6 separate regions of the Homo sapiens genome follow, and regions 1, 2, 3, 4 and 5 are each linked to region 6. Evidence: promoter capture Hi-C in human tissues and cell types (Jung and others, 2019). All regions are on one chromosome and are shown on one strand. The core of a region is centred on a gene start or on the middle of the fragment in contact, and the rest is flanking DNA. Distances in the headings are between cores, read along the strand shown.

What was found. Contacts are between HindIII fragments. The study calls those that stand out against the background at their distance.
Region 1: a fragment that was not itself captured here is called in contact with the fragment with the promoter of DDB2 in region 6 in 1 of the 25 tissues and cell types used here (hippocampus).
Region 2: a fragment that was not itself captured here is called in contact with the fragment with the promoter of DDB2 in region 6 in 1 of the 25 tissues and cell types used here (hippocampus).
Region 3: a fragment that was not itself captured here is called in contact with the fragment with the promoter of DDB2 in region 6 in 2 of the 25 tissues and cell types used here (dorsolateral prefrontal cortex and mesendoderm cells).
Region 4: a contact is called between a fragment that was not itself captured here and the fragment with the promoter of DDB2 in region 6, in 1 of the 25 tissues and cell types used here (adrenal gland).
Region 5: a contact is called between a fragment that was not itself captured here and the fragment with the promoter of DDB2 in region 6, in 1 of the 25 tissues and cell types used here (dorsolateral prefrontal cortex).

The regions. Positions count from the first base shown.
Region 1 is chr11:47,533,002-47,537,725 of GRCh38, forward strand. All of the region lies in intron 1 of CELF1 (CUGBP Elav-like family member 1), which reads right to left. Among named protein-coding and RNA genes, the nearest start is that of CELF1, 18 kb to the right of the region's middle. The HindIII fragment of the contact is 4,129 bases long and covers 930-4,724 here.
Region 2 is chr11:46,927,912-46,932,555 of GRCh38, forward strand. No RefSeq gene overlaps it. Among named protein-coding and RNA genes, the nearest start is that of CSTPP1, 6.5 kb to the right of the region's middle. The HindIII fragment of the contact is 4,284 bases long and covers 1-3,632 here.
Region 3 is chr11:46,830,271-46,835,022 of GRCh38, forward strand. All of the region lies in intron 1 of CKAP5 (cytoskeleton associated protein 5), which reads right to left. Among named protein-coding and RNA genes, the nearest start is that of CKAP5, 14 kb to the right of the region's middle. The HindIII fragment of the contact is 9,291 bases long and covers 1-4,752 here.
Region 4 is chr11:46,946,857-46,951,111 of GRCh38, forward strand. All of the region lies in intron 1 of CSTPP1 (centriolar satellite-associated tubulin polyglutamylase complex regulator 1), which reads left to right. Among named protein-coding and RNA genes, the nearest start is that of CSTPP1, 12 kb to the left of the region's middle. The HindIII fragment of the contact is 6,510 bases long and covers 1-4,255 here.
Region 5 is chr11:46,803,639-46,808,490 of GRCh38, forward strand. CKAP5 (cytoskeleton associated protein 5) reads right to left here. Exons shown (of 44, transcript NM_001008938.4): 8 at 4,393-4,506. Among named protein-coding and RNA genes, the nearest start is that of CKAP5, 40 kb to the right of the region's middle. The HindIII fragment of the contact is 5,433 bases long and covers 1-4,852 here.
Region 6 is chr11:47,213,671-47,218,498 of GRCh38, forward strand. It overlaps DDB2 (damage specific DNA binding protein 2), which reads left to right and starts at 1,304. Exons shown (of 10, transcript NM_000107.3): 1 at 1,304-1,593; 2 at 2,666-2,802; 3 at 3,188-3,379. The coding sequence starts at 1,467. RefSeq lists enhancers at 1-744, 745-1,580, 787-1,026, 868-2,067, 1,357-1,636 and a silencer at 1,097-1,306. The HindIII fragment of the contact is 25,797 bases long and covers 1-4,828 here.

The DNA.
Region 1 (4,724 bases), core at 1,744-4,243, 320 kb after region 6:
GACAAGTTGTAAGCAAAGAGGTTGTTACCATGGGAACCCACTAGGATTCCTGGGGGTGGATCCAGAAGGCTTTTTTTTTTCTATCACAGTATTTTTTTTTTTTGATGTTCTGGATCTGGCAATTCAGAAAGCTGATCTTATTATTTCAGCAAGCTACCTTCAAGAAATAGTACCATACAGTATACATTTCTGAAGAAATATTAGACCAAGCGCAGTGACTCACGCCTGTAATACCAGCAATTTGGGAAGCTGAGGCGGGGGGATCACTTGAGGTCAGGAATTCAAGACTAGCCTGGCCAACATGGTGAAACCCCATTTCTACTAAAAATACAAAAATTGGCCGGGTATAGTGGCTCATGCCTATAATCCCAGCACTTTGGGAGGCCAAGGCAGGCAGATTGCCTGAGCTCAGGAGTTCACGACCAGCCTGGGCAACATGGTGAAACCCCCTCTCTACTAAAATACAAAAAATTAGCCAGGCATGGCAGTGTATGCCTGTAGTCCCAGCTACTCAGGAGGCTGAGGCAGGAGAACTGCTTAAACTCCGGAAGGCGGAAGTGGCAGTGAGCTGAGATCGCACCACCGCACTCCAGCCTGGGCTACAGAGCGAGACTCCATTTCAAAAAATAAATAAATACATACATACATACATACATAAATTAGCTGAGCATGGTGGCGGGCACTTGCAATCCCAGCTACTTGGGAGGCTAAGGCAGAAGCATCACTTGAACCTAAGAGGCAGGGGTTACAGTGAGCTGAGATTGCTCAAGTGCACTCCAGCCTGGGCAATAGAGCGAGACTCTCCCCCAAAAAAAAAAAAAAAAAAAAAAGGAATATTTATAACTATTTTAGTGACACTCTGTTGCACAATAGTTAAATATATTCAACTCTTAGTTTTTCCCCTCCCTCTTCATAAAAGCAGCTACATCAATATAAACTCAACTGAAGTTTCTATGACCTATGTATGCTGCTATTTCTTTCCAGACCACAACATAAGTTATATTTAGCATTTTTTCTTTCCTTTTTTTTTTTTTTTTTTTTTTGGACATAGAGTTTCACTCTTGTTGCCCAGGCTGAAGTACAGTGACACAATCTCTGCTCACTGCAACCTCCGCCTCCTTAGTTCAAACTACTCTCCTGCCTCAGCCTCCGAAGTAGCTGAGATTACAGGCGCCTGCCACCATGCCCGGCTAATATTTTGTATTTCTAGTAGAGATGGGGTTTCACCACATTGGCCAGGCTGGTCTCGAACTCCTGACCTCAGGTGATCCACCCGCCTTGGCCTCCCAAAGTGCTGGGATTACAGGCATGAGCCACGGCGCCTGGCCATATTTAGTATTTTTTCTATCAAGATTTCAATGTTTTCCAAAGTTCAAGAAATCTCAGCTTCTCTACACAATTATGTTAGAAATATATCAGACACAAAATTATAAAAATAAAGCTGGCCGGGCGCCATGGCTCATGCCTGTAATCCCAGCACTCTGGGAGGCCAAGGCAGACAGATCACAAGGTAAGGAGACCGAGACCATCCTGGCTAACATGGTGAAACCCTGTCTCTACTAAAAACATACAAAAAATTAGCCGGGCGTGGTGGTGGGCAACTGTAGTCCCAGCTACTCGGGAGGCTGAGGCAGGAGAATGGTGTGAACCCAGGAGGTGGAGCTTGCAGTATGCAGAGATCGCACCACTGCACTCCAGCCTAGGCGACAGAGCGAGACTCCATCTCAAAAATAAATAAAATAAAATAAAATAAGCCAAGAGAAGTATAAGTTCAATCTCCAAGTATGCCTCCAAAACTGTAGTGTGTAGATAAATGTGATGTTAAATTACGTTTAGGGAGATGAACTGCCACTCCCAGCTAAATGTGTGTTGTCACTCAGTTCCCTGGAGACCCATTCTGTTAGAAGATATCTTAAGAAAACAGATCATTTACAAGTCTGATCTGTGGATCTGTTTTTTTCAGAAGTGGAACAGTCAGAATTAGAAAAAAAAAAATTTTTTTCCCTAAGTTGGAAGCTTTCTGGAAAAGGGTTAAGTCTTTCCATAGATCTAGCTTAGCCCCAGAGCAAACTTATACCAGACAAATGAACATTAACAAAAACAGCACTTGATTTCACAGTAATAATCTAGAACTTCAGCTACCCTACGCCTGATCCATAATAGTTTGAGCCAGAAAAGTACCTGGCACAAATTTCAAGAGTATCCCTCACACTAATAACTACTGAAACCTAAATATAAATTCCATTTAAATGTGTTGAAAACCAAACTCAGAACCAATTCATACAACAAATTCACAAACCAAAAGAAAAAAAAAATGGTTCTATGGAGATAAGATATACCATTAACTACCGTAGGCAATAGTTATTAAGATACTCCACAAACATATTATGTCTTGGGCTGGGCGAGATGGCTCACACCTGTAATCCCAGCACTTTGGGAGGCCGAGGCAGGCGGATCAGTTGAGTTCAGGAGTTCGAGACCAGCCTGACCAACATGGAGAAACTCCGTCTCTACTAAAAATAGAAAATTAGCCGGGCATGGTGGGGCATGCCTGTAATCCCAGCTACTCAGGAGGCTGAGGCAGGAGAATCGCTTGAACCCGGGGAGGTGGAGGTTGCAGTGAGCCAAGGTTGCACCACTGCACTCCAGCCTGGGCAACAAGAGCGAAACCCCATCTCAAAAAAAAAAAAAAAATAAATCATGTCTTGTTTTGCTATATTTACTCACCTAAGCTTTCCTGTAGCATGCCCACAAGTTTTTTTGTTTTTGTTTTTTTCTTGAGATAGGGTCTTGCTCTGTCGCCCAGGCTGAAGTGCAGTGGTGCAATCTCGGCTCACTGCAATCTCCACCTCCTGGGTTCAAGCGAGCCTCCTGCCTCAGCCTCCCAAGTAGCTGGGATTACAGGCGTGTGCCACCGTGCCCAGCTAATTTTTTCTGTTTTTAGTACAGACAGGGTTTCACTGTGTTAGCCAGGATGGTCTTGATCTCCTGACCTTGTGATCCGCCCGCCTCAGCCTCCCAAGGTGCTGGGATTATAGGCATGAGCCACTGCACCCAGCCCAAGAGTTTGTTTTTAAATAGTTTCTGGCCAGCATGGTGGCTCAAGCCTGCAATCCCAGCACTTTGGGAGGCTGAGGCAGGTGAATCACTTGAGGCCAAGAGTTTGAGACCAGCCTAGCCAACATGGCAAAATCTCATCTCTACTAAAAATAGAAAAATTAGCTGGGCATGGTGCCAACGGCCTGTAGTAGCTCTTCTGGAGACTGAGGCACGAGAATTACTTGAACCCGGGAGGCGGAGGTTGCAGTGAGCCAACATTGCACCACTGTACTCCATCGTGGGCGACAAGGCGAGATTGTCATAAATAAATAGATAGATAGATAGACAGACTGATAGATAGTTTCCCAATGCTATCTATAACCCAAATTAGCTCAGTAAAGAGGTTTGCAAAGCTTTTTAAAAAACTGCATTTGTAGGCCGGGTGTGGTGGCTCATGCCTGTAATCTCAGCACTTTGGGAGGCCAAGGTGAGCAGATTACCTGAGGTCAGGTGGAGTTGGAGGTCAGCCTAGCCAACATGGCGAAAACCCGTCACTACTAAAAAAAATACAAAAATTACCTGGGCGTGGTGGTGCACACCTGTAATCCCAGCTACTCAGAAGGCTGAGGCAGTTACTTGAACCTGGGAAGCGGGGGCTGCAGAGCTGAGAACACACCACTGCACTCCAGCCTGCGTGACAGAGTGAGACTCCATTTCAAAAAATAATAATAAAAAATAAAAATTGCACTTGTAAATGTATGCAGAGACTATTAAACAGAAATAGCACGCAATAAAAACAATGAATATATAATAAACATAATGTCTTTCCATAATTATTTCCCATCAGCTTGAAAGGGGAAGTAGGAAGGACAAGTCCACAGTATAGTTTTGGCACATGAGTTTAATATCAAACAGCCTAGAAACAAAAAGGAGAAAACAGGACATGACAGGAGGCAAACTCTTGGATGCTTTATTCATTTTTACTAGTGGTTTACTATTTCCTTGATTTTATTTGGAAAAGCATGTCTTGGCCCAGAAAGGCAAGAGTGCAGACTGCCAGCAATATCAGATTATCCTTTTCTTATTCTTTGGAGCTACTGAAAACTGAGCCAAAATCAGAGTTGTCTAGGAGCCTTCTGACTGTTCAGGCAATAAAAATTACGAAGTTTCAAGATCAGAGCTCCACAAGGTTTTTACCATACAAATTTTTTTTTTTTTTTTTTTTGGGACAGAGTCTCACTCTGTCGCCCAGGCTAGAGTGCAGTGGCGCCATCTTGGCTCACTGCAGCCTCCACCTCCTGGATTCAAGCAATTCTCCTGCCTCAGCCTCCTGAGTAGCTGAGACTATAGGCACACACCACCACATTCAACAAATTTCTGTTATTTTTAGTAGAGACGGGGTTTCACCATGTTGTCCAGGATGGTCTCGATCTCCTGACCTCGTGATCCACCCGACTCAGTCTCCCAATGTGCTGGGATTACAGGCGTGAGCCACCACACCAGGCCTACAGTACAAACCTTAACCATAATGTCTTTTGATGGAAAGCTGCTTACATTTTTTTTCCAGATAACTCCTTGGAGCTTTTAAAGTACTCCATCTTCAGAAGACAATGACTTAAATTCACAGAATTAAAATGTTAAGTCTTTTTCCTATTACTAATCCTTAATACTGAACTGTTCCAAAA
Region 2 (4,644 bases), core at 241-2,740, 290 kb before region 6:
AACAGAGCATAAAAGTTCAGAAAATTTGCAGCCTGACAATGAAGTAGAAAAGACAAACCCATTTTTTTAGGAGAAATTCAAGCCGGCTGCAGAAATTTGCATAAGTAGCAAAAAGCCTAATGTTAATCCCCAAGACCATGGGGCAAATGTCTCCAGGCCATGTCAGAGACCGTTATAGCAGCCCCTCCCATCACAGGCCCAGAGGCCCAGGAGGAAAAAGTGGTTTCGTTGGTTGGGCCCAGGGTCCCCATGCTGTGTGCAGTCTAGGGACTTGGTGCCCTGTGTCCCAGCTGCTCCAGCCGTGGCTGAAAGGGGCTAACATAGAGCTTGGGCTGTGGCTTCAGAGGGTGGAAGCCACAAGCCTTGGCAGCTTCCACATGGTGTTGAGCCTGTGGGTGCACAGAAGTGAAGAATTAAGGTTTGGGAACCTCTGCCTAGATTTCAGAAGATGTATGGAAATGCCTGGATGCCCAGGCAAGTTTGCTGCAGAAGCGGGGCCCTCATGGAAAACCTCTGCTAGGGCAGTGCAGGAGGAAAATGTGGGGTTGGAGCCCCCACACAGAGTCCCTACTGGGGCACTGCCTAGTGGAGCTGTGAGAAGAGTGCCACCGTTCTCCAGACCCCAGAATAGTAGATCCACTGGCAGCTTGCACTGTGTGCTTGGAAAAGCTGCAGACACTCAACACCGACCAATGAAAGCAGCCAGGAGGGAGGCTGTACCCTGCAAAGCCACAGGGGCAGAGCTGCCCAAGACCATGGGAACCCACCTTTGCATCAGCATGACCTGGATGTGAGACCTGCAGTCAAAGGAGATCATTTTGGAGCTTTAAAATTTGACTGCCCCACTGGATTTTGGACTTGCATGGATGCTGTAACTTGTTTTGGCCAATTTCTCCCATTTGGAATGGCTGTATTTACCCAATACCTGTACCCCCATTACATCCAGGAAATAACTAGCTTGGTTTCGATTTTATAAGTTCATAGGCAGAAGGGACTTGCCTTGTCTCAGATAAGACTTTGGACTGTGGACCTTTGGGTTAATGCTGAAATGAGTTAAGACTTTGGGGGACTGTTGGGAAGGCATGATTGGTTTTGAAATGTGAGGACATGAGATCTAGAGGGGCCAGAGGCAGAATGATATGGTTTGGCTGTGTCCCCACCCAAATCTCAACTTGAATTTTATCTCCCAGGATTCCCACGTGTTGTGGGAGGGACCCAGGGGGAGGTAATTGAATCATGGGGGCCGGTCTTTCCCATGCTATTCTCTTGATAGTGAATAAGTCTCACGAGATCTGATGGGTTTATCAGGGGTTTCTACTTTGCTTCCTCCTCATTTTCTTTTGCCACCACCAAGTAAGAAGTGCCTTTTGCCTCCTGCCATGATTGTGAGGCCTCCCCAGGCATGTGGAACTGTAAATCCAATTAAACCTCTTTTTGTTCCCAGTTTCAGGTTTGTCTTTATCAGCATCATGAAAATGAACAAATACAGACTTTTGACAAATACTTCTTCTGTCTTTCTGGGTAGTGGAAATATTATAACAGCAAATAAAACATGTTCCCTGGCTATGAACAATTTTTAGTCCAAGAGGAGTAATACCCAGGCAAACAAATAAGTAAAGAATATGATAAATGCTAAAATACAGCTACATATCAGGTGCTAACTGGCTCCTTGGGAAATTGGATAAGGTCTCATGGGTGTGGTGACATTAAACCTAGGTCGTTTTTGTTTTTGTTTTTGTTTGAGACAGGTGTGACTCTGTCACCCAGGATGGAGTGCAGTGGTACAATCACAGCTCACTGCAACCTCCACCTCCCCAGCTCAAACAATCCTCCTGCCTCAGCCTCCCGAGTAGCTGGGGCTACAGGTGCATGCCACCACACCTGGCTAATTTTTGTATTTTTGGCAGAGAAGGGGTTTTGCCATTTTGCCCAGTCTGGTCTTGAACTCCTAAGCTCAAGCCATCCATCTGCCTTGGCCTACCAAAGTGCTGGGATTACAGGCATGAGCCACTGCGCCTGGCCGTAACCTAGGTTTTAAAGGATGTGTAGTTTACTAAGCAGAAAATATAGTAGAGGTACATTCTAGACAGAAAGCTTACACCAAAGCAAAGGGTGTGAAAGAGCCCAATATGTTGGGGGATATCGAGTAGGAAAGCATGGCTGTATGTATAAATTTGTAGAGAAGACTGAGTGGCGAGATGGCTGGAAGAAGAGGTTAGTACCAAGCTGTGAAAGGATTTATATGTCTGCATGTGAAGTTTTGCTTCTTCCTAGTAATGGTGAGTCAGCAGCAACACCTTTTTTTTTTTTTAATGTAGATATGGTGTCTTGCTATGTTGATCAGACTGATCTCAAACTCCTGTCCTTAAGTGATCCCCCCACCTCAGCCTCCCAAAGTGCTGGGATTACAGGTGTGAGTCATTGTGCATTGCCTAGCAACACTTTTTAAATAAGGAAGTAACATGGTCAAATTTGAACTTCAGAATGACATACTCTTGTGACAATGTAGAGGATGATTTGGGGGAGAAAGAAAAAATAGACACAGAGACTCCAGCTTCTTGTCCTAAGCTTCTGAAATTTGGGAACTCCCAGTTCATATCTTAAATTTGATATCTAGCACATTCTCTCTCATCCTTCTGAACTAATTCTGTTATGTACACGAAGCATTCTCTCTAAACACTTTGTTGTTAGTTGCTTTTTTCCTGGGAATTTGTTTGTTTGAGACAGGGTCTCACTCTGTTACCCAGGCTGAAATGCAGTGGCATGATCATGGCTCACTGCAGCCTTGAACTCTTGGGCTCAAGTTATCCTCCCGTCTCAGCCACCCAAGTAGCTGGGACTTTAGGTGTGTGTCATCATACCTGGCTAGTTTTTATTTTAATTATTTATTTTTAAACATATTTTTTGTAGAGATGGGTCTCACTATGTTGTCCAGGCTGGTCTCAAATTCCTGGGCTAAAGCAATCCTCTTGCCTTGGCCTCTCAAAATCCTGGGACTATAGGCATGAGCCACCATGCCTAGTCTGGGCACTTTTTTTTTTTTTTTTTTGAGATGGAGTCTTGCTCTGTCGCCCAGGCTGGAGTGCAGTGGCACGATCTCAGCTCACTGCAGCCTCTGCCTCCCAGGTTCAAGCAATTCTTGTGCCTCAGCCTCCTAAGTAGCTGGGATTACAGGTGCGTGCCACCGTGTCCAGCTAATTTTTGTATTTTTAGTAGAGACAGGGTTTCACCATGTTGGCCAGGCTGGTCTCGAACTCCTGACCTCAGGTGATCTGCCCACCTCGGCCACCCAAAGTGCTGGGATTACAGGCGTGAGCCACTGCGCCCGGTCAGTCTGGGTATTTTATACATGGTTATTTAGGTGTAGGAAGCATTTGCCAGTGCTTTCTGATTGACTTTTAATGTCTTTCTCAATGATGCCTTTTGTTTTTCTGGCCGTTTTGGGGTTTTTGGTTTTGGTTTTTTTGTTTTTTTTTTTTTGAGATAGGGTCTCGCTCCAGGTTGGAGTGCAGTGGCATGATCACCCCAGGCTCAGCTGATCCTTTTGCCTCAGCCTCCTGAGCAGCTGGGATTAAAGGCATGAGCCACCACACTTGGCCACCTTTTTCTTTAATAAATATTTTTAATGAATTGATTGCCATGAGGCGCCCATAAATCCTATTGATTGGTAGGTCTTTGTTTTCTAAACTTCTAATCTAGAGGGAAACAAATTCATTTAACAGACGTTTATTGTATAACTGATTTCTGCAGGCACTGCACATGGTCCCAGAAATTTAAAGATGAATGAAGACTGTCTCTGCCCTCATGGAACTCACAATCTAGTAGGAAGAATTTTTTAAAAAGACATAAATGGTTATAAAAGTGCATACTAGCTGGGCGCGGTGGCTCACGCCTGTAATCCCAGCACTTTAGGAGGCTGAGGCGGGTGGATCACCTGAGGTCAGGAGTTCGAGAGCAGCCTGACCAAAATGGAGAAACCCCGTCTCTACTAAAAATACAAAATCAGCCAGGTGCAGTGCGCATGCCTGTAATCCCAGCTACTTGGGAGGCTGAGGCAGGAAAATCTCTTGAACCCGGGAGGTGGAGGTTGCAGTGAGCCGAGATCACGCCACTGCAGTCCAGCCTGGGTGAAAGAGCGAGTCTCTGTCTCAAAAAAACAAAACAAAACAAAACAAAACAAAACAAAACAAAACTGCATAGTCTAGGACAGAAGAAGGCATAACTAATTTTTGTGGGCTACCAAGAATCAGTAAATCATCCCCCCTTTCAAACTATATGAATGTGTAATTTGCAACTCTTATTGCAGCATTTGAAAACATAGAATAACAAGAAAGTACAGTCCATAATTACCTTTGAACTTCAGTTCAATTTACGCCATATCCCCTTAACTAGTTTCTTACAATGCATTAGTTATTCTTAACTGCCCAAGAGTTTGTGAACATTTCTTTTCTTTACAAATTACTCCAAAGCTCTGGTCCATTGGCTTGTGGCAGTACAAAATTACCTTCTATAAATAGCATTTTTAATTGAAACATATGAATCCCAGACAGTGGCATCACACTTAGTTTCTGCTGTGCTCTTGTGGAAGATAAGCCTTTCATGCAGAGCCTAGTAGCTCAGCATGAATTTCATGACCTGCATTTC
Region 3 (4,752 bases), core at 641-3,140, 380 kb before region 6:
CTCTACTAAAAATACAAAAAATTAGCCGGGCGTGGTGGCAGGCACCTGTAGTCCCAGCTACTCGGGAGGCTGAGGCAAGAGAATGGCATGAACCTGGGAGGCAGAGCTTGCAGTGAGCCGAGATGGCACCACCGCACTCCAGCCTGGGCAACAGAGCAAGACTCCGTCTCAAAAAAAAAAAAAAAAAAAAAAAATTAGAATAGAGTAGAGAAAGATGGCCACAGGCCTAGGAGTGCCAGCAGCCACCAGAAGCTGGAAGAGGCAAGGAACAGATTCTTTCCTAGGGGCTCTGGAGGGAGTGTGGCCCTGCTGACTGACACCCTGATGTAGGTCCATAAGACTCATTTTGGATTTCTGGCCTCCATACTGTGAGAGAATAAATCCTGTTTTTTTAAGCCACCAAGTTTGTGGTCATTTGTTACAGCAGCCATAGAAAACTAGGACATCATTGTACATGTTTGAATGCACATAAACATTTTCTGGAAGGATCTGTAGAAAATTATTAACCATGGGCCGGGGTGGTGGCTCTTGCCTGTAATCCCAGCACTTTGGGAGGCCAAGGTGGGGGCGGATCACGAGGTCAGGAGATCGAGACCATCCTGGCTAACAGGATGAAACCATGTATCTACTAAAAATACAAAAAAATTAGCCGGGCATGGTGGCGGGTGCCTGTAGTCCCAGCTACTCGGGAGGCTGAGGCAGGAGAATGGCGTGAATCTGGGAGGCGGAGCTTGCAGTGAGCCGAGATCGCGTCACTGCACTCCAGGCTGGGCAACAAAGTGAGAATCAGTCTCAAAAAAGAAAAAAATTGTTAACCATGACTTCTGAGAGTGTGTCTAAGGGTTAAGCAAAGAAATTTTTTTGAAAAAACTTTTACTTTGAACTTTAATACCCATCCATGCCTTCTGATTTTTAATAATGAGCTTCAGCATCTTTTATAATAATGTTTTTGTATTTTTTATATTATTAAATTTTTTTCATTTACTTTTTCTTTATTTAACTCCCGCTTAGATGATAAATAATGCTTTTAAAAGCTTTAAAACTTTAAAATTCCCACTTAGAGGCTTGAAGTTGGATCATCTGCCTATACTCATCCCATAGGCTACACTTCACTCTCTCTCTTAACATTTTTTGTATACATGATATCTCCTTTGAAAGAAGGAACTGAGTCTTATTCATTATCCCAGCATTGCATAGTGCTTTGTGCTCTAGTGTAAAATTTCTAAAATGGCACCATTTCATCAAGTCACAGAAGTCTTTCTGTTTTTTGTTTTTTGAGACAGGGTATTGCTCCATTGCCCAGGCTGGAGTATGGTGGTGCAATAACTGCTCACTCTAGTCTCATCCTCCCAGCCTCATGTGAGCCTCCTGCCTCAGCCTCCTGAGTAGCTAGGACTACTGGGGCATGCACCACCACATCTGTCTAATTTTTAAATTTTTTTGTAGAGACAGGGTCTCACTATGTGGCCCAGGCTGGTCTCGAACTCCCAGGCTCAAGCAGTCCTCCTGCCTCAGCCTCCCAAAGAGTTGATATTACACTTGCGAGCCACCCCACCCAGTCAGAAGTCTTAAATATACAATAAACTTATCCTTTTTTTTTTTTTTTTTTTCTGAGACAGGGTCTTGCTTTGTTACTGAGGCTGGCGTGCAGTAGCAGGAACATGGCTCACTGCAGCCTCGACTTCCGGGGCTCTGGCAAAACTTCTGCCTCAGCATCTCATGTGGCTGGGACCACAGGTGTTTGCCACCATGCCCAACTTTTTTACTTTTTGTAGAGATGGGGTCTCACCACTTGCCCAGGCTGGTTTTGAACTCCTGGACTCAAGTGAACTGCCTGCCTCAGCCTCCCAAAGTGCTGGGATTACAGGCATGAACCACTGCGCCTGGTCTTATAAAGAAAATTTTGTAGAATGTGTATTTCAAATGTGTTGAGAAAACAATATATATTTAATAAAATTCTGAAGTAAACCCTTTTCAAAGTGAAAAAAATCACTCAGTAATATTATTTTGAAATTTTCTAAGATTTTTGCCACTATTTTCCTAGTTAGTTACTTTTTTATTATAAGATCCACTAAAAGAGGGTAATTTCATTTTTAGAATCTTTCACTTTGGCAAAGCCATGGCAGTAAAACAGTTGCTTGAAAGAAATCTTACTGTAGAAAGCTCTACTCTAGATTAAATTTAGTGCAAACCTGGAGTCATGTTGAGCTCTGGAGGTAGACAGATTGAGTTGTAAACCTTGCTCTGCCACAAACCAGCTGATCCTCAGTTTTATCAATCATCATAACAATACCATCTTCATGTTGCTCCCTATTTAACACACACTTCTTGAACACGTATTATGTGCCAGGCACTATCCTAAGCACTTCACATGTATTTACTCATTTAATCCTTAAAACCTTGAAGTTGATATTATTATCCCTATTTAATAATGAGGCAATTGAGGCAAACAGAGTAACTTGCCTAACATGACTCATCTAATCATTGTTGTAAAGATTAAATGAGATTTTGCCTTTTACATGTTAAGAATTCCCTCCATAGCCAGGTGTAGTGGCATGCGCCTGTAGTCTCAGTTACTCAAGAGGCTGAGGTGGGAGGACTGCTTGAACCCAGGAGGTTGAAACTATAGTAAGCCATGATTGAGCCACTGCACTGTGGCCTGGGTGACACAGCAAGAGTTTATCTCAAAAAAAAAAAAATTTTTTTTCCCACAAATATTCACATTATTCTCCTGTCCTGACAACTGTGCTTGTCAGATAGTGTGAGGCTATTCGGTGTTAGATGCTCATCTAGATGCTGAGTATAGGCTGTGCACCACAATAGCCCTGAGGCAAAGTACAATAAGAGAGTATGACGGAGGAATCTAATCTAGACTGGGGCAGCGGGGTTCAGGGAAGGTCTCCCTGTGAAAGTGATACTCAGGCTGAAAACTAAATGAAATTAATAGGGGTTATCCAAGCAAAGGCAAAAAGTAGGGACAACAGAGAATGTTTCAGGCATGTGTGTGGATCTCTAAAAGATGCAGGCAAGAGTAAAGAACAAAAATATGACCCATGTGACCAAATAAGAGAAAGGCTGATTGGAAAGGGTCAAATTAAACAAATCCAGTGGATTTTATGCAAGTAAGTAGTAGTATTAACAGATTTCATGGCAAACACCAAGCACTCAGTAAACCACAGCTATCATTACTATATTATTGTTATTATTATTAATTTTTTTTTTGTTTTGAGACGGAGTCTGGCTCTGTCGCCCAGGCTGGAGTGCACTGGCGGATCTCGGCTCACTGCAAGCTCTGCCTCCCGGGTTCACGCCATTCTCCTGCCTCAGCCTCCCAAGTAGCTGGGACTACAGGCGTCTGCCACCATGCCCGGCTAATTTTTGTATTTTTAGTAAAGATGGGGTTTCACCGTGCTAGCCAGGATGGGCTTAATCTCCTGACCTTGTGATCCGCCCGCCTCGTCCTCCCAAACTGCTGGGATTACAGGTGTGAGCCACTGGGCCCAGCTAAGTAAGTAGTAGTATTAACAGATTTCATGGCAAATACCAAGCACTCAGTAAACCACAGCTATCATTACTATATTATTATTATATTATTATTATTATCATCATCATTATTGAGATGGAGTTTTGCTCTTGTTGCCCAGGCTGGAGTGCAATGGCACAATCTTGGCTCACTGCAACCTCTGCCTCCTGGGTTCAAGTGATTTTCCTGCCTCAGCCTCCTGAGTAGCTGGGATTACAGGCGTGTGCCACCACGTCCAGCTAATTTTGATATTATTAGTAGAGATGGTGTTTCACCATGTTGGCCAGGCTGGTCCTGAAAGCCTAACCTCAGGTGATCCACCCGGCTTGGCCTTTTACTATATCATTATAAGCATCATCCCAGTGTCATTGAGAGATTTTAGGTTGATTTCAGACTTAAACAAACCTATATTTCAGTCCTTTGATATAAGAGTGGGCTAACTTGGCCTGGTGCGGTGGCTCACACTTGTAATCCCAGCACTTTGGGAGGCCAAGACGGGCAGATCACTTGAGATCAGGAGTTCAAAACCAGCCTGGCCAACATAGTGAAACCCTATCTCTACTAAAAATACAAAAATTAGCCAGGCATGGTGGTACATGCCTGCAGTCCCAGCTACTGAGAAGACTGAGGCAGGAGAAACGCTTGAACCTGGGAGGCGGTGGTTGCAGTGAGCTGAGATTGCACCACCGCACTCCAGCCTGGGCAACAAGAGCAAAACTCCATCTCAAAAAAAAAAAAAAAAAAAAAAAGAGAAGCCTAAGTCGGGTTACAGCCCTTAGGACCAAGTAAGGCAAGTCCTCTCTGGTCTAAAACAAACTGCTTCTCTGGGTGTACAAGCAATCTATTCCTTTTCATCCTATAGAAAGCAGATTCACTATTAAAAAATTATATGCTATTTGGTGATATTCAAGGGGACTATCCATAGGTTTGGAGGAATCTCCCATATTAAACATTGCTCAAAATTTGTAGGCAGCCCTCTAAAGCATAAAAATATTTTTATGTACTGGATAGAGATTTTTCTTTTCTTTTTTAGACAGGGTCTCACTCTGTCGTCTGGGCTGGAATACAGTGGCACAAACATGGCTCACTGCTGCCTCCACCTCCCAGGCCCAAGTAATCCTCCCACCTCTGCCTCCCAAGTAGCTGGGCCACAGGCATGCACCACCACTCCCAGCTAATTTTTTTTTTTTTTCCTAGATATGAGGTCTGTCTATGTTGCTCAGGCTGGC
Region 4 (4,255 bases), core at 73-2,572, 270 kb before region 6:
CACAATGCTTGGCCCAAATGAAGTGCTCAGTTGTTGAATGAATGGTCTACTTTAAGTAACAGAATAAATTTTAAAATAAATGGGAGAAAGGAATCCAGTTCAACAAATAGTTACTGAATTCCTAACATGTGAGAGAAACTATGTTTTTCCCCCCTTCCATGAATGAAAAAGGATGATTAAATCTGCTCTGGATCTTTTCGGTTTTAACTCTGATTTATACCTAAAGTTAATTTCTTGGTTGATACCATAGTTTCTGTGTTTGGGTTACATAACATTAAAATTTAATCCATTTTGTAAAACCAATATTTTAAAAAGGAAGGAGATTTTCTACAATTTTGGAGCATCTCAATGAGATCCTGTCCTTTAGTTGGACAGAGTGATATGCTTTGATTAAGACTGGAATTACCCTTGTAAACTAATCTCTGGGTCCTCTTTCTGTGTTGGGATCACCCTTACACTACTTCCCTAGGGGCCTTAGGAAATAGCTCATTCTATGATTGGAATTTCAAGTCAAAACACATTTATCTGAGCAGAATTTTAATGATTTATCAAAGAGAGGAGGGATTTTCCCAAACACAACTGAACTTACAAATTACTGATCCCACTAGCTATGTTTTTTCTTAAGCACCTTTCTTTAAACAAAGCAATTACTGCTGAAATCATCAAATGTATTTTTTTCATGGAAAGCTTTTGACTAAGTTTTGTTTGATTAGCAGGAACCTACTAAAAGTAAATATTGTTTGAGACAGCACTTTCAGAGCCTGTTCTTTTTCTTCATTCAATTAGCTTTTAAAGCACTATTCTTTGGAGAAAGTAAGAGCCTTTTTTCCAGCTGTCCTATTGTGTAACTCAAGGTCTCGTTAATACTATTATCTAGCCCCGAGATTACAGGTAATTGTGATAAAACACAAGCTTCAGTTTCTGTAATCTCAGACAGAAATCTGCTTGTGCCCCAGGACTTCAGATCAGGTGTTTTTTAAATTCAGACTTCTCTCACCTGGGACAGTCCCATTGGCCCAAAGTAAACAGAGGCATCTGGCGGGGATAGAGCTGCATTAGGGCCCATTGCCACTTTTTTTTTTTCCCTTTAAATTAATGTGGCAGAACTCCTCCTGTGGCCAACTTACAAAGACCTGTTCTAAATGGGAAAATTCTGTATTTTAAAATAGGCATGCTTGAAACAATAACACTTTTGAATGTAAGATATATGAAAGGCCACACGTCTTCGGCTTTGCTTGTCAAATGGAGAGGCTGCCAGAACCGGTCGGCTCCATGGTTCTCATGCCCCAAAGTCCTGCAAATTGACACGTAAGTAGGCAACACACAAAGAAGTTCAGCCCATGAGAAAGTGAGTTTGGGCGCTTGGGCTGGCCTCCTTTCTCTCTGTGTGGAGTTCTTTCCAACTTTGCCTCTTCTGTCCCATCTTAGTTTTTCAGAAAGGAGAGATTAAATGTGTCTGGTATATCAGCATGTTAACTGCTTGGGCAACATGAGGCTAGCACTCAGGACACTGTTCAGCCTGTCATATGGAAGGAATTGCCTTTCAGAGGAGATTATAATTGTGTATATAGCCACACAAATGCACATTCTGCCTGGAGGAAATTGCACAGAAGAGGATGCCTTATGCTGCCACTCAGGTCTCTTTGTGGAAGGCTGCGTAAGAAGTGCTTACATGGCATAGTCACCTCTTTTGGACTTAATGAGTCATCTTTTTGTGTGATGGCTACATAAAAAAAAAGGAAAGAAGAAATGTACTCTTCCCCAAGTGAGCTGCTTTTATTGGCCCTGCTGCTTTGTCTAAGAGTTTTATACACTCCTCATGACATCATTTACAATGCTGGTGCACAGACAGTAAACAAAAAATAATTTAGCCCTTGGGCACCTAGACGAAACTTAAGTAGTCCAATTTAGAGAAATGATAACAATAAACTTCATAAACAGTGAACACATGAGCTTAAACAGCAAGCATGACTCCAGTCCTTTTTGGAATGCGATGCATTGAAAGATGGCTATAGAGAAAACTAGAAGCTCCACACGTCAGTTATGTGCAGTTAAGCCTTGAGTCCATGGTCTAGTGTTAATCTCAAGAGTACATTCTAGTTAGTGGATAAAATACAGGCTACCATGTGAGTAAGTCATTAAGCTCCTTGAGCCACAGCATTTCACCTATAAAAGTGGGAAAGGTAATATTGCCACCTACCTCACAGGAATGAAAGATGATTGAGAAGATAAACTTGTGGAGTTCCTTATAGGGAAGGTATTTTGTAAATAGAAAACACTGTTATTATTCTCCTTGATCAAATTTCCCCAACAAATGGAGTTGATAAAAGCTACCTCACAGAGGGTTGAGAGGCTGAATTAATTAATATACGTCTAGTATCTTAAGAGTAAACTATTTAATGAAACCTAAAATTGATTGTCTTTCTTGATAGTCTATGAACTACCAGACCTGCTGTTTAGAAACATGATTGTCTTCTAAAGTCTCACATATGCAGTCTTTGCCTTCTCTTCAAGGGTTGGCACGATAAAGAATAGTGAATGTACAGGCAAAAGATAGGCTAAATCTTCAGGGAGAACAGCCTTGCCTTTTTTCTTTTCAAGGGTATATTTACAAATAGCCTTTGGAGTCTTGCTAATCTTTGTTACCATGCCTGAACATAGGGACTGTTTTGACCTTTGTTCTTCCAATAAATATTTATTTTTGATATCATATTTCTAAATGAGAAACAAACTTAGAAGGAAAAGAAGTGGTTGAATTTGTCTCACATTATAAATTTTTTCTTATCTTTCCTAGGATGGTAAGAGAAAATAACTTTTTTTTTTTTTTTTGAGACAGAGTTTCGCTCCATCACCCAGGCTGGAGTGCAATGGCACAATCTCAGCTCACTGCAACCTCTGCCTCCTGGGTTCATGCAATCAATTCTCATGCCTCAGCCTCCCGAGTAGCTGGAATTATAGGTGCATGCCACCATGCCTGGCTAATTTTTGTATTTTTAGTAGAGATGGGGGTTTCGCCATGTTGGCCAGGCTGGTCTCAAACTCCTGATCTCAAGTGATCCTCCCGCCTCGGCCTCCCCAAATGCTGGGATTACAAGCATGAGCCACCGTGCCCGGCCTGAAAATAACTATTATTGAAGGACCAGACATCAGGCTCTCCAACTGGAAAGTTCTCAAACTTAGCCAAGTGATTAAAAACAGCTTTGGCTGTTCAGAATTTAATCTTTTGTTTTCAATTACAGTTAGTAGTATTTGGGTAACTTCATTTCCCAGATTTCATTTGCTGTTAGGTGACACAAAAAGGGGAAAGACTTTTTCTTTTCTTTTTTTTTTTTTTTGAGATGGAGTCTCGCTCTGTCGCCCAGGCTGGAGTGCAGTGGCGTGATCTTGGCTCACTGCAAGCTCCGCCTCCCAGGTTCACGCCATTCTCCTGCCTCAGCCTCCCGAGTAGCTAGGACTACAGGCGCCCGCCACCTCGCCCAGCTAATTTTTTGTATTTTTAGTAGAGACGGAGTTTCACCGTGTTAGCCAGGATGGTCTCGATCTCCTGACCTTGTGATCCGCCTGCCTCGGCCTCCCAAAGTGCTGGGATTACAGGCATGAGCCACCGCGCCCGGCCTAAAGACTTTCTTTTAAATTCTAATCCCTTAGGCAGGGATCATGTCTCATATATATATTTTTTAATACAGAGATAATATTTCAACTTTTAAGTAGTACAGCTGCCTAAATACTGTCTTAAGTAGAAACTGTTTTCTTTTTTCCTTTTTTCTTTTTTTGAGGTGGAGTCTCACTTTGTTGCCCAGGCTGGAGTGCAATGGCCCGATCTCGGCTCACTGCAACCTCCACCTCCCGGGTTCAAGCAATTCTCCTGCCTCAGCCTCCCGAGTAGCTGGGATTATAGGCGCCTGCTATCACGCCTGGCTAATTTTTGTATTTTTAGTAGAGACAGGGTTTCACCATATTGGCCAGGCTGGTCTGTTGGTCAGGGTGGTCTTGAACTCCTGACCTCATGAGCCACCCGCCTCAGCCTCCCAAAATGCTGGGATTACAGCCATGAGCCACCAGGCCTGGCCTGGAAACTGTTTTCAAATAGGTGTTCTTCATATGCCATCTAGAGTAATTCTCATATGCAGGAGGACTGAAGGAGACAGCAGTCTCGTTCAGTCCTCACAGCAGGTAGACACCAGCTGATCCCACTTTTCTTTGAGGAAACTGGGATTTAAGTTATATAACTTGTCCAAGGTCACTGAGCTAGTAT
Region 5 (4,852 bases), core at 1,150-3,649, 410 kb before region 6:
TCAAACCCAGGTCAATTCTGACTCCAAAGTTTTTGCTCCTTTTATTAAGTAAAGCATGTTCTCCCTCTCAACTTGTGTTAAGTTCACTTTTCCTTACGAGAGGATGAGATCAGGGTCCTAATAAACATTTTGTTAAATCTCTAATTACTGTAAGTCTATGAAGAAAAAAATTTTCCATTCATTTCTGTATTGAAATCACTATTGGTATTTATAAATGTTCTGATTATTTTTCCTTATCAAAATACCTCTCAGATATGATTTAGATGCTAGGCTTTATATTTAGCATCTAAATATATATTCTAGGAATGGACATCAAAAACATGTAAGATCCCATTCCAACAAATTCTAGTTCAATGAATCTGGGATGAAATTTGGACATCAGTATTTTTAAATGGCTCAAAGGGTGATTTTGTCATATGGGCTCAGTTAAAAAACTATCATTCTATTCCTTTCTTAGGAGAATACCTCTCCCTATCCATTGTTGGAACAGTAACCAGTGGGAGCTAGACTCTAGACACTCATGATCTTATTGTATAGTATTGAAGAAGATACTGCGAATCTGTTAAATTTCAAGATTGCAAAGGCTCAAATAAACTTATAAGTGAGCAATGGACCAGATACCCTAATATAATACCTGCCTGTCACACTCATTGACACTCATTGTTTATTCCCATAAACAAGTTATTCTCAACAGGGAAATGAGAGTAGGGAAGATGGAGAAGTGTTTATTTTTAAGAAAAGTAACATATGAGGGGGGACTCCATTTCAGAGGTAAGAAAAACAATGACTTCTGTCTTTTCAGTAATTTCTGTTCTAGACCAGGGAATGGAAGCTTTAGCTCATAATCTCAATATAATTTAAACAATAGGAAATCTTGTACAGTTTTAAGTGCTGTCACTTTTCTCATAAATTGAGGCCTACAGTATTAAAACAAAGTGCTTTAAAGTAATTATCAATTGGTATTTATCTTTAACTAGAAATTAAAGCCACTAGTTAATAATAACTAAAGCACACCGTTGACAGAGGAAAGGAAACAAATTAATGAAACCCATTATGAATTACTGTGTTTAGAAAACTATGATGAAAACAAGCAATAATTAAGGGGGGAAAAGTAGAAAGAACAAGTGAAAAAAGATTAATACCACATAGAAGTCTAAAGATTATATAAGAAAGCACTTCGAAAATCCAAATCTTAATGTAAAGATAAATAAATTATATATATATAAAAAATCAAATGTCCATAGGCATAGGCACATGACAAAATCAAAGAAGCGATGAGCTGGGAGGGAGGCATCTTATAAATAAAAGAACTATAGGCCAGGCGCAGTGGCTCACGCCTGTAATCCCAGCACTTTCAGAGGCTGAGGCAGGCAAATCACTTGAGGACAGGAGTTCAAGACCAACATGATGAAACCCTGTCTCTACTAAAAATTAAAAAAAAAAAAAATTAGCCGGGCATGGTGGCACGCGCCTGTAATCCCAGCTACTCAGGCGGCTGAGGCAGGAGAATCGCTTGAACTCGGGAGATGGAGGTTGCAGTGAGCTGAGATCGTGCCACTGCACTCCAGCCTGGGTGACAAAGCGCAACTCTGTCTCAAAAATAAATACATCAATTAAAAATAATAGAAAAAAAAGAACTATAATCTGTGAGAACAGGAAAGCCCACAGAATATGCTAAATCAGGTGACAACTCAAAACAGTTTAAAAATAATTTCAGGAATATCATAAGAAATTTTAAAGTTAATGCCTTTTTACTACTTTCATTAAAGGAAAAAAATTGAGAAATTAATGGGATTACTTGATTTATACAATACAAAGAAGAGATAATTATAAGGAGGGAAAAAGGATTGGTCTGTAATCTATTCTTCAATCTCATCCTCTTTTTTCCATTTCACCATTTCCCCACTTTTTTCCATTTCACCATTTCCCCACTTTTGTTATGTTTCTAGGAAGTCAACATAATACAAAGTTTGTGTGTACATATAACTAAAATCAAATACAAAAAATAAAATGTCAGCTGGGCACCGTGGCTCATGCCTGTAATCCCAGCACTTTGGGAGGCCAAGGAGGGTAGATCACCTGAGGTCAGGAGTTCGAGACTAGCCTGGCCAACATGGTGAAACCCCGTCTCTACTAAAAACACAAAAATTAGCTGGGTGTGATGGCAAGTGCCTATAAATCCCAGCTATTTGGGAGGCTGAGGCAGAAGAATCACTTGAACACGGGAGGCAGAGGTTGCAGTGAGCCGAGATCGTGCCACTGCACTCCAGCCTGGGCAACAATAACGAAACTCCATCTCAAAAAAGAAAATAAAAAAAATAAAATGTCTCTGTCACTACTTAAGGCAAAAAGAAAAGAAAATGTCGTTTCAGGTTAATTTTTACAACTGAAGTTAACTTTTCATTGTTTTAAATATTTTAGCCACAAAATTCAGTTTCTTTTTACTTGTTTGTGGTCTCTGATTCCCTCCACCCCACCACGTGAAAAGGGAAAGAAGTTTCTACTGCTACCCTAGATCTCTCAGAAATCTATTGTCTGTCTACTCAAATATAAAATCCATGATGCTCTCTCTTTATATAGTACAGCAAGAGATTATATTTACATTCACAATGCCAATGGAAACCACAGAACTGTCTTTGTGTGAGAAGCTAATATCCTTAGAAAATACATGTAGAAAACACATAATATTAATGATAAGGAAAAAGAAAAGGTTTTCTTTGACACATCGAGAATTCAGCACCAGAGCAATAAGATTTCTAATTAATAACCAAATGCTGGAAGAATTGACAGAGAATCTGTAGCTCTCTTCATATGCCACTGGAACCTGACTTTCCTTGTCTCAGTGCCCTCTACTATTCCCCTTCCCATTCTTTCCTCCCAGGTTCCAGGTTGGTAAAACTCTTTTTCCCCTAGGGCAACTCTCTTTTAATTTATTTTACACGAGTGTAACTCTTCAAGATGGAAAATTGATGACTGAACAAAGATTTCACAAATCATATCTCTGCCTCCAAGTCCCACTGAAGGAAAGCCTAGGAAGGTTAACTACTAGAATATAGTTGATCCTCATCATTCACGAATCCATATTTGCAAATTCACCTACTTGCTAAAACTTGCTTATAATCCCCAAATCAACACTCATGGTACTTTCCTGGTCATTTACAGACAAGTTCAGAGCTGTGAACATTTTGTGTTGTCTATTGTGCACATTCCCAGCTGAGGTAGACAAGATAACACTCTACCTTCTTGCTTTAGCTTTTACACTATAAACAAGTGTCTTTTTCATGGTTTATTCAGTGCCATGTTTTTGCATTTTTGTGTTTTTTGTTGGTGCTCTTGTTGTTTAAAATGGCCCCTAAGTGTAGTGCTGAAATGCTGTCTAGTATTCCTAAGTGCAAACAGGCTGTGATGTACCTTAGGGAGAAAATATATGCGTTAGGAAAAGCTTCAATCAGGCAAGAGTTACAGTGTTGTCGGCCAAGAGTTCAATGTTAATGAATCAACAACATATATTAAATATGCTATCTCCAAACAGAATAAAACAAAGTTATGTACTGATTGATGGAAATGTTGTGACCAAAGGGTTGCAGGATCCTAACCCTGTATTTCTCTTAGAAGCAATGATTCAATATTCACTAATTTAGTGTTCGCAGTGGCTTTACAGAATATAACTACTACAAGTAATGACTTAGGTGTGCGTATAATTAAAAATCAACTTCCTCCCCTCACCATTGTAATCCTCTGTAATTTCAGACTGAGGAAGCAAACAAAACAAAATTTTCATTCTTGCTATATTCATGAAGATGTTTTCAGAGTTTGTTCTTAAGCACTATAATCATATCCACAGTGTTTGATCTATACTTACAGTTTTCATAAAAAGTTACTACATACAAAATGTCCACCAGCAGCATTCAACTTGCAATACCAAAAGATTATTTCCTAAAAATGTTTATCTCTTACTTAGTACTTGTCTGTTTCAGAACTGACCTCATATTCGTATACTCTTTACATACTGATACAAAGTAGTGTGTTATCATTTGCTATCTTCATGTTTAATATTTGTCCAATTAAATACAGCTAACTTAAATAGCTCATCCTATAGAATTATAAAACTGGAAAATGTAGTTCTAGATCAGCAACTCTCTTTTCCTAGAGAGTTACAGAAGCTATCAAATAGCATACCTAAAGTCAAAGTGACAAAAAACAAAGATTGAAAATGAAACTAACCCACAACAGGAATTTAAAACAACCCTTTAAAAATGTATGTCTGTAATTCAAATACCATCAGTAATGTTCCTTAAGTGGCAATGTATGTGTAATTAAAAAGATGACTGATGAGAAATTCAAAGGCCTGATGGCTGTTACAATACCAGTACTGCAAGTCCTCATATTTACCTTCTTTAATGCTTTTACTAAATCTGCATAATCGCCAGCTTCCAGTTTGGGGTTTTTTATTAGTACTTCTACAGACTCCAGGGCCTCTTTTCTCTCTTGCCATTTTTTTGCCTCCTGCAAGATACAATATGAGTCATTTGTAACAGGAAATAAGAGAGCGGAATAAAAGTCTATTTATTGCACTCTGCTAATTCAAAGATACATAATTTTTTTAAAAAATTATAAAACTGGCCGGGCGCAGTGGCTCACGCCTGTAATCCCAGCACTTTGGGAGGCCGAGGAGGGCAGATCATGAGGTCAGGAGATCGAGACCATCCTGACTAACAAGGTGAAACCCTGTCTCTACTAAAAATACAAAAAATTAGCCGGGCGTGGTGGCAGGCACCTGCAGTCCCAGCTACTCGGGAGGCTGAGGCAGGAGAATGGCATGAACCCGGGAGGCGGAGCTTGCAGTGAGCCA
Region 6 (4,828 bases), core at 54-2,553:
CTGAGTGTTGCGGCGCGCACCTGTAGTCCCAGCTACTCGGGAGGCTGAGGTGGGAGGATCGATGTCCAGGAAGTCCAGCCTGCATTGAGCCCACATCCTGCCACTGCACTCCAGCCTGGGTGACAGAGAGAGGCCCTGTCTCAAAAAAAAAAAAAAAAAAAAGAAAGAGAGAAAGAAAGAAAGAAAAAATAAAAACAGCCAACGACCAAACAAATAAAAGAGCAGTGAGAACCAGACACGGTGGCTCATGCCTGTAATCCCAGCACTTTGGGAGGCAGAGGCAGGAGGATCACTTGAGCCCAGGAGGTCCAGACCAACGTGGGAAACATAGCAAGACCTTGTCTCTACAAAAATAAAAATAAAAAAATTAGGCTTGGGGATACAGGTCTGCAAGCCTACTTGGGAGGCTGAGGTGGGAGGATCAGTGAAACTTGAGGTCAAGGCTGCAGTGAGCTGTGATTACATCACTGCACTCCAGCCTGGGTAACGGAAGAGAGACACTGCCTCTAGGAAAAAAAAAAAAAAAAAAAAAAAAAGGCAAGGAGTTCCAATCATTCTCCCTTCACAGAGAAGCAGCTTGGATTCGATGGGACTGTAGTTTCTGGAATCCGACTGCAAAGCTGACCGCTGGTAGAGCCCAGCTTCTAACTTAGGAAAGGCACTAGCTCTCTACAAAGCCGCCACTCCCCAACTACACCCTGTAGGGACCAGCCAATCCCAAAGCCCGAGCGGGCGTCATCACCAATTGCAAGGCGGGAGACAGAGCCTTGGCTGGCACCGGGCCTCCTCCCCGGACCCGCAGAGGCCTGGCAGCGCCGCGTTTGAGGAGGGTTCGTGTCAGGAAGTCAAGGCTGGATGATCGCTTAAGCCCAGGAGTTAAAGACCGGCCCGGACAACAAAGCGAGACCCCGTCTCTCCAGAAAAAGAAAAAAAGAGAGAGAGAGAGAGAAATTAGCCGGGCGTGGTGGCGTACGCTTGTAGTCCCATCTACTTAGGAGGCTGAGGTGGGAGGATCGCTTGAGCCCAGGAGGTGGAGGCTGCACTGAGCTATGATCGCCCCACTGCCCTCCAGAGTGAGCGACAGAGCCAGACCCTGTTGCTAAAAAAAAAAAAAAAATCCATAAAGCCGGGGACCATCTTTGCTCCAGGGAGGTCAGCTGACCCGGGCTGGCACTGGCCCTGGCGCAGTTCCCGCCCCTCCCGGGAGCGCTGGCACCGCCCCTTGGCACCACCCCCTCCCCGCGCCCCCGCCTTCCAGGAAGGGGCGGGGTCTCCGAGACGGGTGGGGCCGGAGCTCCAAGCTGGTTTGAACAAGCCCTGGGCATGTTTGGCGGGAAGTTGGCTTAGCTCGGCTACCTGTGGCCCCGCAGTTTTGTAGTCCCCGCCTTGTTTCTCCCCAGAGGCCTCTCAATCCTCCCTCCATGATCTTCGCATAGAGCACAGTACCCCTTCACACGGAGGACGCGATGGCTCCCAAGAAACGCCCAGAAACCCAGAAGACCTCCGAGATTGTATTACGCCCCAGGAACAAGAGGAGCAGGAGTCCCCTGGAGCTGGAGCCCGAGGCCAAGAAGCTCTGTGCGAAGGGCTCCGGTACTGCCTGTGCCTGCTGCTTGAATATTTCCGCCTTTTAGGGTGCTCGCGCAGGAGGCTGCAGCGGGGGATGGGTGCTCCGAGGCTCCCGAGGCCCGCGCAGGTCACGGGTGCCTCCGGCTGTGCATTCTACCTGCAGGTCCTTTGACACCAGAGTGTTTAGGTTTCAACACCTCTCCCGCTAGGTAACAGGAAGCAGATGAGCTCCGTAACAACAGACACACGGACTTGTCAGATTCCTTGTTCGTATCAGGGTTCTTGCACAGTTAGGACGGCTTCAGAGAATCCTACCTTTCCTGGCGCTGTGTGTGCTGGATTTCATAGTCACGCTTGTTAGCTGCACGTCCTCGGTGGTCAGTTGTGAGAGCCCCCAATTCCTTCCTCCTTAGAAAGCTCATTCTCTGAGGTTTACTGGGGCTTGAACCTGGGGCTATAAGGAGTTTCGAGACACTCAAAAACGAGCTGGGGCTTGTTAATCAAGTGGTTTTTGTCCATGAGAAGAAAGAATTGGTTGTCAAGACGTCGGACCTATAGTGATTGGGTCCTCAAATACAGTTTGGTGATCAGGAGTTGTTGCTTTATTGCTATTCTAATTTCACTTACCTCCCCAGAAGTAACCTAGTTAAGAGCATTTCCAGGCCTTCCTATTCCTTCTTTTCCTAAACGGTGACTTCTGCCATGCTGCCCTAAAATCTTTTTATTGTGCATTATATGTGATTTATAAAATTGTGACCCAGTCCCATCTCGAGTTTTGCAGCCCAAACTGGGAAGAGTTCTGCATTGTACTTTATCCTTGTGTGTTTCTTTGGCTGGGGTCTCAGGAACCCTGCACGACTGTATTTACTTTCACTTCAGACTTACTGTTTGTGGGAGTGTTTTGGGGAAGGGGCCAAATCCTCACTCATTTTTTTATTTCTGGTGCTCGTTGAGACCACACAGACATGGAAAGGCCGCAGGAGGTGATGAGACAGAGATTAACCGTGCCGAATGAAACAAGGCTTCCTTTCGGGGAATTCAGCAGAAAAACCTTTCGTGAGATTGGAGAGGAAAATATGTCTGTTCTGCTTGGCAGGTCCTAGCAGAAGATGTGACTCAGACTGCCTCTGGGTGGGGCTGGCTGGCCCACAGATCCTGCCACCATGCCGCAGCATCGTCAGGACCCTCCACCAGCATAAGCTGGGCAGAGCTTCCTGGCCATCTGTCCAGCAGGTAAGGCATTTTTTGCCTCAAGTCCTCAAGGGTTTACACGTGCATTTTTACTATTGCATGCTCCCAAATTAGATGATGGCTTGGTTCACCAGCTTGTCAGAGTGGTCCGATCACCCAGACTGTGGTGACTGGCCTACTGGGCACTCAGCCAGGTAAAAAATGTCTTATGTTGTAAAGGTCCCAGCTGGAATGCACTCTGCCCCTTTTGCTTTCCAAGATTATTCGTTCGTGTACATTGCAAATATTTTCATGCACAGGGCAGGCAGTTAGCTTTCCTTTGGTGGGAGGACTTGGATCTAGGGCTCATCCATGAAGGAGGCAGAGATTGGCAGTTTACCCAGAACTTGGGTTTTAATTCAACCTAATTCATTTCTCTCTGTGGCAGGGGCTCCAGCAGTCCTTTTTGCACACTCTGGATTCTTACCGGATATTACAAAAGGCTGCCCCCTTTGACAGGAGGGCTACATCCTTGGCGTGGCACCCAACTCACCCCAGCACCGTGGCTGTGGGTTCCAAAGGGGGAGATATCATGCTCTGGAATTTTGGCATCAAGGACAAACCCACCTTCATCAAAGGGGTGAGCAGTTCCCCATGCCAGGTCGTGCTAAAGAAGTGTTTGTTGGCTGGGTGCAGTGGTTCGCACCTGTAATCCCAGCACTTTGGGAGGCCAAGGTGGGTGGATCACCTGAGGTATGGAGTTTGAGACCAGCCTGGCCAACATGGTGAAACCCCGTCTCTACTAAAAATACAAAAATTAGCTGGGTGTGGTGGCAGGCGCCTATAATCCCAGCTACTCAGGAGGCTGAGGCAGGAGAATTGCTTGAACCCGGGAGGCAGAGGTTGCAGTGAGCCAAGATTGCACCATTACACTCCAGCCTGGGCAACAAGAGTGAAACTCCATCTCAAAATAATAATAATAATAATAATAAAAGAAAATAAAAATAAGGAGTGTTTGTTGAAGGCATGAAAGGAATATTGATGTCATCCAGTAATCATCAGGAAGAGGACTGGGATCAAAATTAACTGTGGGCATTTTCAAATACGTAAATGATGATGATATATATTTTTCTAATGCCTGTCCTTAAAATACTAGAAGATATAGACTATTGATCACCCATAGAATTGAAGCCCCTTCTGGGCTGGGCGCAGTGGCTCAGGCCTGTAATCCTAGCACTTTGGGAGGCCAAGGTGGGCTGACCACGAGGTCAAGAGATGGAGACCATCCTGGCCAACATGGTGAAACCCCGTCTCTACTAAAGATACAAAAAATTAGCTGGATGTGGTGGTGTGCGCCTGTAGTCCCAGCTACTTGGGACACTGAGGCAGGAGAATCGCTTGAACCCGGGAGGCGAAGGTTGCAGTGAGCCGAAATCACGCCACTGCACTCCAGCCTGGGCAACAGAGCGAGACTCCATCTCAAAAAAAAAGAATTGAAGCCCCTTCTTACCACATTGACCTCATCTTACGCCATTGTCTTTTCTCACTTCTATGCTGTAGCCACACCAGCTGTTTCTATTCCTGAAACCGGGTCTCTGTAATTGCTGTTCCCTTTGACTGGAGTGCTTTTCCCCCATGGTCTTCTCATGGCTGGCGTCTTCTCTGCAGGTCTTTGCTGATTCTACCTCTTCAAAGAGGCTTTCGCTGGTTGTCCTTACTCATAACGTAGATCCCACTCCTCCACCGTCATTCCCTGTATCATTACCCTGCTTCATGTTTCCCCCAAGTGTTGATGGGTGTCTGAGATCTGATGCTTATTTGTATGTTTGCCCACTGATGGCAGGGACCTTTCCTTTCTGGTTCACCATCCTATTCCCAGTGCCTGGAACAAAGTTTGGCCTAGAGTAGCTGCTTTATATTTGTTGAATGAGTGAGGGGCTTGAAGTGTAATTGAGCAGATGGGATGTATACATACGAGGTAATTAACAATACAGATGCCAAGTGCTACAGAATGTGAAAGAAGGAAGAACCCCTTGTGAATTGGAGTCAATAAAGAAGACTCCATGGATGAGCGAGGAGGAGCAGTATT